2 separate regions of the Homo sapiens genome follow, and region 2 is linked to region 1. Evidence: promoter capture Hi-C in 16 types of primary human blood cells and fetal thymus (Javierre and others, 2016). All regions are on one chromosome and are shown on one strand. The core of a region is centred on a gene start or on the middle of the fragment in contact, and the rest is flanking DNA. Distances in the headings are between cores, read along the strand shown.

What was found. The method cuts DNA at HindIII sites, captures the fragments that hold promoters and counts their contacts. A CHiCAGO score of 5 or more calls a contact.
Region 2: a contact is called between a fragment that was not itself captured here and the fragment with the promoter of BOD1 in region 1, in 1 of 17 cell types (non-activated CD4 T cells). The highest score is 5.1, in non-activated CD4 T cells.

Annotation. Positions count from the first base shown.
Region 1 is chr5:173,614,075-173,618,547 of GRCh38, forward strand. It overlaps BOD1 (biorientation of chromosomes in cell division 1), which reads right to left and starts at 2,576. Exons shown (of 4, transcript NM_138369.3): 1 at 2,126-2,576. The coding sequence starts at 2,362. RefSeq lists silencers at 2,383-2,432, 2,443-2,512 and enhancers at 2,493-2,752, 2,773-2,852. The HindIII fragment of the contact is 8,451 bases long and covers 1-4,473 here.
Region 2 is chr5:5,415,709-5,420,181 of GRCh38, forward strand. The region is part of intron 2 of LOC101929200 (a long non-coding RNA gene); the gene reads right to left. Among named protein-coding and RNA genes, the nearest start is that of ICE1, 4.7 kb to the right of the region's middle. RefSeq lists an enhancer at 3,575-3,644. The HindIII fragment of the contact is 1,560 bases long and covers 1,685-3,244 here.

The sequences.
Region 1 (4,473 bases), core at 1,326-3,825:
ACCAACAGTAAAACAGATATCAACAGAGATGAAAGACAGAACGAATGGGGAATATCTGGTTCCAAACGCACGCCTACCACCCTCTGGGAGAGTTTGTTCGTTCAATCCTTCCCTGGATTCCGTAAGACAATAGATTCTCCCCTTTGCATAAAGCAGTTAGGATTATTTTTGTCCCTTGTAAGCATAAATCCTGATGCCATACCGTCTACTCAAAATAACGCACCTGGTTTGAGATGATACGAACTGTTTACCGAAAAAGGACAAAGGACAGTGAACATCACCACCAAAACACGTAACAAACCCAGGCGATACAGAATCATCTCAGTTCAAGAAGTCAAAGGAACTCATGAGCCCACTCATAACGTTTTACTGTACTACCAACCCCTCCACCTGTTCACTTATCAGTTCAAAGTAAATTACAGTGCAAAGTAAATTACAGACATCTGTTCAATTTCCCCTAAATACTTCAGCAGTCTGGGGTGGGGCCCAAAATGTGCATTTCTAACAAGTTCTCAGGTGATGCTGATGTTAATCCAAGCACCACGCTTTGAGAACCACTGGGCTGAAGCAACAAAGGTCTCAGATAAGATATGCCTGAAAAAACACTATCTTCAAGAACTAAAACAACCTGGAATTCTCAGAAGGAACAGCTAAGGAGCTGTACATGGGAAGGTTCCAACCACTCTCCCTCACCAGCCGCTCAAGAGGGTAGTCCCCTCCCCCCTCAGGGGATACGTTCCAAGATCCCCAGTGGGTGCCTGAAACCTCAGGTAGTACTGAACCCTATATACACTACGCATGAATGTCTTTGAGGGCCATTATGAAGTAAAATAGGGGTTACCTGAACACAAGTACTTCCATACCGCAACAATTGGGTAAATGAAACCGCAGAAAGCAAAACCTTGGATGGGGCGGGCTACTGTAGTCGCTTTTGTTTTAAAATCACACACAAAACCTAACGGAATATAAGAAATATGAATGGAGAACTTGTCCTAGGAAAGGTGAAAGCTCTGTCAATACAGATCTGGGATGTATATGTATTAAATTACTTTGTTTCAAGGACAGACTTCTAGTTGGGCTTTTCATCTTGGAGAAGGAACAGTGTATACCACTTTCTCTCTCTACATCCGTATTTACCACCTGGTTTATTTACATGTCAGTTTTCTAACCTAGACTATAAGTTTTGAGGATGGGGTAGTGACTTATTCCTGTAATCGCACAGCTTGGCAACTAGAGGCCAATAAACGTTCAACGAATAAACAGACTACGTTTTTCCCTATCTTAAGGTCTAATTCTAAGCTCACAATCTTGCTGTGAGGTAAGCAAAATGTTTCCATGACAGGCTCTGGTAGGAGAAATCACTACCCTGCAGGAGTCCAGTGACAGGGTCTCCTAACCTACAACCACAGTCGTGGCTAGACAAGTTTTGAAAAGGAAGAAAATGAACATTCCAGCAACTACTGTATGTCTGATACTTAACACCCATTATTTCATTGAATCCAAACCACCCTGACGAGTAGGTAAAGTGAAATAGCGTTTTACTGGTGGGACTGACCAATGGCATTAGGATCTCAACTAGGCACCAAATCTCCTTTTATCAATGATGAAGTGCAAAATAAGGGTGCTGTTTCTACAATTTATCTTAATTCAACGCCGTACTAGTCTGCAAAACAATGAGCTAGAGAAAAGGAATAAACAGCTATAAAATGGTGATGACTGTGTGTTCAAATCATTGTGTTTAATGCCAGCTTCTCAGTGGTGAGTACGGAACAGGTGGAAATTCTAAAGCACGCTTGCTTATCTACTTGGTTTCGAAGTTTGTTATTAAGGGCCTCAGAGGAGTTCCATCTTGGGAATGATACGGTCTAGGCTCTAAAACCCACATTGAAACCCCAAGTTCGGAGAAGGGACTGGGTAAAATCACAACTAGTAGTAAATGTATCAGGCAGGAACCCACGTGTGCATCGCTCAGAAAGCTCTCCGTACTGCCCCAAGCGGTGTAAGACCTCACCGCTGAGATTTCTAAGCTATCTTTTGTTTTGCTCTCGGCTTTCGAAAATCAAAGCTGCCACCCGGCGGCCTCACGTGCAGCCCCGCTCCCCAACGCCCAGGCGGCCGCAGCTACCTTGGTGTCCACGTCGGCCAGGCAGTCCCGGCGGAAGCTGTCAAAAAGGCCCCGGCTCTTGAGCTGCTCCACGATGAGAGCGATGAGCTGCGGGTCGCCGGGAGGCAGCGAGGCCGGGTTGATGGGGCCACCGCCCCCGCTGGCCCCAGTAGCGCCAGTCGCTGCCCCGGCAGAGGCCTGGCTAGTTCCGCCGCCGCCCACCGCGCCAGTTCCCCCGCCGCCGCCGCCGTCCGCCATGGCTGCGCCCCGGGCCCACAAGGGAGAACGACTATAGCTTCTTCTCCAGGACAGAAGGCCTAGAACGTGTAGAGGTGGTGAAGGGGGCGGTGAAGGAGGAGGGCCCCAAGGCGGCAGCGGCGGAGGTGGCGATGGCGGCAGGGGCGGTGGTGGGGGCGGCGGCGGCGAAGGCCCCCTCTGATACAGCAGAGGTTGTGGTGGACGCGGCAGAAACGGCCTGCTCGATTCCAGGCGCACCCCAGATGGCGTCAACGTTGACCTTTGCATTGTGGGGCGGGAAGTTTTCTGTGGCCATCTCCGGCGTTCTTTATAGGCAGCGGCCTAGCCGAGAGAAACTACAACTCCCGGCAGGGTTCGTGCTTGCTCGTCGCGATTTCGCGGGGTAATATGGGAACTGTAGGCGCAGGCCTCGTGATCGCTGCAACCCGCCAGGCCTTCCCCGCCAGGCCTTCCCCGCCCACTCTCTGCTCACTTCCCATTCAATCAACACGTCCCAGCAGTGCCCGATTATAACAGTCATCTGTGGAGCTGATTAAAAGTATAGATTACCAGAATTATTTCTTAAAGATTTTTATCCAGTATTTACGGGTCGAGACCTAGCAATCTGTGCTTCAGCATGCACTCCCACGTCCTTCTTGAACAACATGTTCCGGGAAATTCCGGAAACAGTGGAACAGTCAAACTTCTATTGTTCAGAAATTTGTGAGTTTCCCTCCTTTTGGTTTTAATAGCAATGCATACTCATTTTAGAAAATTGGAAAATAACGGAAAAGTGTGAAGAAGAAAATAAAAGTTTTCCTTAAGTCTGTCTTATATGTGTGTGGATTTCCTCCCAAATATTAAATATTGTCAATCATAAGCCAATATTGAATAATTGAAAAGTGTCAGGCGTGATGCTATGCACTTTCCACGCACTTCTTCACGATAATTTAAAAAAGCAGATACATACTACTATTATTGCTATTTACAGACGTAGAAATGGAGGCAGAAGAAAGTTTGTTAACCTAATCACATACCTAGAGGTAGAAAAGTAGGATTTGAACCCAGGTTTTGAGGATCTAAATCTTGCATTTTAGCCTGAGGTATCCTGAGAGCTAGTTGGTATCCCACAATAGGTAAGGCTTTATATCCTGATTTTTTTAAGTAGCCACAATTCACCATTGGAATCCTATAGCTGCCACCATTATCCTCTCTTCCCTTCATCTTTTGCCTATTGTTAGCTCAGCTCCCCCTCCCAACCTCAGCAATTATGTCTGCTATTGTTGTTTCCTCATCTTACACAAGCAGCAGAGGGGATGTAAATAGCAAATTCTGCAATATCCTTGGCTCCTGCGAAGATGCAGAATTGGCAAAGATCCAGGATGTTCTCCACACCAATATTTAGTACTCAAGACAGTTTAATTTTTTTTTCTTTTTTTTTTTTGAGACAGAGTCTCACTCTATCGCCCAGGCTGGAGTGCAGTGGTGCAATCTTGGCTCACTGCAGCCTCCACCTCCTGGGTTCAAGCAATTCTCCTGCCTCAGCCTCCCGAGTAGCTGGGATTACAGGCGCATGCCACCATACCTGGCTAATTTTAGTATTTTTAGTAGAGATGGGGGTTTCACCATGTTGGCCAGGCTGGTCTTGAATTCCTGACCTCAAGTGATCTACCCGCCTCAGCCTCCCAAAGTGCTGGGATTACAGGTGTGAGCCACCACACCTGTCCAAGAGAGTTTAAATTAACCCTCAAAAGAAACATTCAGGTGTTGGATTATACTCATCCTCTAACACCAGCTCAATCATTCACAATGGGTCAGTTAATGACAAACATTCTCTCTTAATAGCTCACCATCCTTGAGATTACCTAATGTCTGTTCCTACTGGTTGACTCTACACTGATCACTCACCTTTAACCCCAGGAGAAGCCCAGTTCAGGCTGCCTCAGCCCCAGGTTCTTTCTTCTGCAAGCCCTTGATCACTCTGACTAGTCCCTTCTCCATTTTTGGCACCCCACATCTTACTCTCCTTCCTCAGGGAAAATTCTTCTGACCCCTAGATCCAATGAGATATTTCCTCCATGCTACAGAAACTCAAAGCCTCATTTTTTGTAGCAATTATTATAATTGGAAGT
Region 2 (4,473 bases), core at 1,215-3,714, about 170 Mb before region 1:
CTCATGATAGTGAGTTCACACACGATCTGAGGGTTTTATAAGGGGCTTTTCCCGTATTTGTTTGACACTTCTCTTTCCTACTGCCATGTGAAGGGCATGTTTGCTTCCCCCTTCCTCCATGATTGTAAGTTTCCTGAGGCCTCCCCAGCCCTGTGGAACTGTGAGTCAATTACACCTCTTTCCTTTATAAATTACCCAGTCTTGGGCAGTTCTTTATAGTAGTGTGAGAACAGACTAATTCAGTCTGCATGCATCCCAGTTGATTTATCCATTCACCTACTAAAGGAACATCTTGCTTTCTTCCATGTTTTGACAATTCTGAATAAAGCTGCTTAAATATTCATGTGCAGGACTGTGTGTGATGTTAAGTTTCAACTCATGTGCAGGATTGTGTGTGATGTTAAGTTTCAACTCATCTCGGTAAAGACCAAGGAGCATGATTGCTGCAGCTTTTGCTTTTTAACCTCACTGGATTATACTTTTACCCAGATATCAGCTGTTTAACATATTAATGTATTAATTCACTCAGCTTACTGATTCAGCAATCATTTCTTGGTAACTGATGTTTAGGAGACACGGTCTGGGTGTTGGGGACATGACAGTAAGTAGAGTGGGTTCTGCCCACTGGCACGGATGTCAGGGCACAAGGACTGGAGAGGATGATGCACACAGTGAGAGGTGCTGGGAGTCACACACATGCTGACTATGGCTGGCTGACCCCGTGACAGGGCGTGGGAGTAAAGAGGAGTCAGACAAACTCCTCAGTTTTCGGTCCTAGCAAGTGGGAGAACAGGGGCACATGCAGGCATCGTGCTGCAGGGAGATGCTCCTCGCAGGACCCAGGACAGAACCGGCTGCCAGGGATGGCAGCGACCATGATGGCTGTGGTGGGACAGGCAGACAGCTATCTTACCAACAGAACTCATGCTGCTTATATGTGGCGAGGAGACAAAGGAAAAAAAGGGAAGGACCAAGAATGATACCAAAAAAAAAAACCAAAAAAGTTTGATATTCAAAACTCTATCAAGGACATTTCCCATAGAAACTGGACTTGAATGGACCTTAGAGAACTGGTTGGATTTACTGCCTAGGATGGAAGGGGGTGCCACTTGCACGCCAAGCCCAATATTGCAGAGGGGCTGATTGGAGCTGTGCACTGTGAAGGATGAGAGCTGGGCACACACAACAACTGAGGAATTCATTGGGAGGTGAGTCAGAAGGAGGAGGAGGATGAAGAGGAAGAGGAGGAGGAGGGTGAGGAGGAGGGAGAGGGGAAGGAGGACGGGGAGGGAGGGGGAAGGAGGGGGAGGAGGAGGAGGAGGAGAAGGGGCTGCACATGCCTCAGCAAGGGCAGTACTGAGCAGAAGATGATCATAAAGTCACTTCCTCCATGTCTTGGTTTTTAAATCATTGCTGTCTGTGGGATTTGTCCTCTGGGCTCCTTCTTACCCCAGATGCAGTCTTGGGCACACACCCTAGCCTTTCCAGTCACTCGGAGACAACACAGTCCAGTGTGATGTGCTGTCACTTATTTCCTGTCTTCAACTTAGCTTCTTACCCATGGAGCTGGTGGCCGTTCTTAGACGCTAGCAAGATGGGTGTGGGTGGGTGGGAATGGGGCAAGACAGGCTTTTCCTCTGTTCCAACATTTTCCTTATTCACCAGCTTGTTTGTGACCCCTCCAAGCTTGGGGTAGGAGAAGGGATCAGGAGAAAAAGATGCAGTCTTTGTAACCTGGCTTCCCAAAGTGCTTGAGTCATAGTCCAAGAACAAAGAACAGGCTGGTGGGGTGGGCTTCTCTCCTGCAGCGAGCTCCTTGGGACGGAAGAGCATCTTCCGCACAGGACTGGGGCAGAGCTCAGCCAGGAGACCCACATTACACCCAGATTATTTTAAGAGAGAAAAGGTAAAAGCAAAACACTAAAATATCACAGGAGGAGCCACCGCAAGAAGCAGCTGACACCTTGGGCTGGAGAGAATAAAAGAAGGAGGAAGGAGTGAGCAAAACTCAGAAATGTGGAGGAGCTGCCACCCAGAAATCACACTCAGACATATGAAGAAGGGACCTTCTGGGCTGGTGCTGAGGCCTCTGCTCTTGGACTCAGGGCTCTGTGGAGCTGGGAAACCAACTTTGCTGGTATCTCCGAGGGGATGCTATGAGGCTGGCTCTGCGTGTGTCAGAGAAACTGCAGACCCAATTCGTATGCCGCTCTGTTCATGAACTGCCACTGCCAGGTGCGAAAGCAAGGATAGCAAGACGCTAGCAGGACCAGGAGTCGGACAGGACAGAATGGGAGGCACAGGCCCCTCTCCTACCTCTTATCTTCTGGTTTCCTTGTGTATATCTGTTGGCACAGCTGAACAGAACTCTGGCAGGAGAGGTGGCACGTGGCTCCCCAGTCCCTACGTCACAAGGCAGAGTATAAAAGGGAAGGTGTGGGGCCGAGAGACAGTAACTTAACCACCAGCTCAGGGTCCTGGGATTCATCCCTCTTCCAGTCAGCAGGAAGTGACAAAGAGCACAGGAAGGCCCTAGGGGCCAGGCCCCTTTTGCTGATGTTTGGCTGGTAGAACTTAATCACATGTCAGGTGCAGGGAGGCTGGGGAATAACTAGACAGAATAGAAACAAGTTTTGGTGAGTGGCTGCCACTGGTGCTGTGTGGATACAGTTCAAAGTGAGGACTTTCCAGCTGTGGACATCCAGCTACAGTTCTTTGAATGGGGGATGGAAGAGCAAAGTTTTATTTCTGGCTGCTCACTTTGCCTCAGCCTCGCTTTCCTCGCAGCTCCCACTGAAATGCCCACCGTATCCAGTATGCAGAACTCCTGCTCATCCCAGTGCGGGTGAGCATGCGGCTCAGTCACCTCCAACCCATCTCCTGGAGCTGTCCCACGGTTCCCTTGGAACCACTCTAGGGCATGTAGCATCTGACTCTGAGTGCTTCACTTCGTGGGGGCACTGATTAAAACAAAGCTCTGGAATATAGCATCATCGAGAGGCAACTGTTGATTTAATTTATTAACATATACATCCACTGAAATGGCTGCTAGATGTGGTCTAGAAACCAAGGAGACCCCCCACTGGCCTCAGGTGAAGGGGAAACATGTCCCTCCCTTTCCTATCCCTCCTCAGAGTTAGGTGGGACATGCCCTTGCCAGCTGCTCTACAGAGAATCCCCTCCTCAACACCTGTCACCTCTGAGCACCTGCCGCCTTCTTCCTCCGATCCCGGAAGCTACAAGAAGCTTCTCGTGTGACCAACTCTTACAGCCGCCAGGTGTTCACAAACCCGCAAGGCAGAGTGGGCTTGTCCTCCTTTACAGAGGGCGACTGCAATGTGAGAGTTGTGAAAGTCCTTTCAAATGTTGCTTTTTTTTTTTTTACTTTTCTCAATCAGCTTTCTCAGGTTGAAGAAAATTTTGCTTAATAATCATATCAGTTTTGCTTTCTATTTCAAACTAATTGTTTCAAAACTAAATTTTATTTGTCCGGTTTCTAAGTAACATCAGTGTTTCAGGAAGAAGCAACATGTTTACTCTCTGGCTTCAAATCACTTTGAGGGTAAGAGCTGAGGCTGTGAGCAAATTGCTGATGTCTGAGGACAAGTCGAAACCCCACCACTATAACCCTGAGTGTTGAGAAAAACTGGAGCAAAGACAGCTTAGGACTAAGCCTGGTGGAACGTGTGTGGGCGGATAGCAAAGTGGTTCCCACAAGACGCCTTCCACCCTAGGATGCCCCAGAGGATGGCCTTTCCCCTCAGCAAGAAGGTTCGGTTAAGTCCTAATACCGTCGGAAATTCTATTTATGTGGAAAACACACAGGGAAAGACAGACATCTTGTGGGCATATGGTAGCATTACATCACAGGTCTGGAAATTAATACCTAATAATCAGGGGGTCATATCATTGAATAACACACTGTTAGTCACAAACAATTCCATCAAACATCTCTCCAATTAAAAGAAACAAATGAACATATAGTTCATTTTTCTTACAGTTAAATGCATCAATTAAAAGCACAGCCTTGAACTTCCAAAGAATAGACAGCTTTCCATTTTGAGTTCTCCTTGGTTTCTAGACCATATCTATTAGCCATTTCAGTGGAAGTATATGTTAATAAACTAAATCAACAGTTACCTCTCAATGATGCTAATTCCAGAGCTTTCGTTTTAAGCAGACACCAAGTATCTGAGAGGTAATGAGCGTGTGGGGTGAGAAGTGAGACTTTTTGAGTTGGATCCTCTGAACAGCTGGCTGGATTCGACAGGCACAGGGAATCCCAAGACCAGAGACTGGAATGCAGACATTCCTCCGGGTCTTAGGGCTTCTCTGGCAGAAAAACAACAAGTTTATCTTGGAAGTTTGACAGGAAAAATGCTTTTAAAGAAAAAGCAAACCATCTTTTTCCTATGAGTCAGTTGAAGATATATTTATCTCCTTTCCAAAATGGATACCACCATCAATAAATTA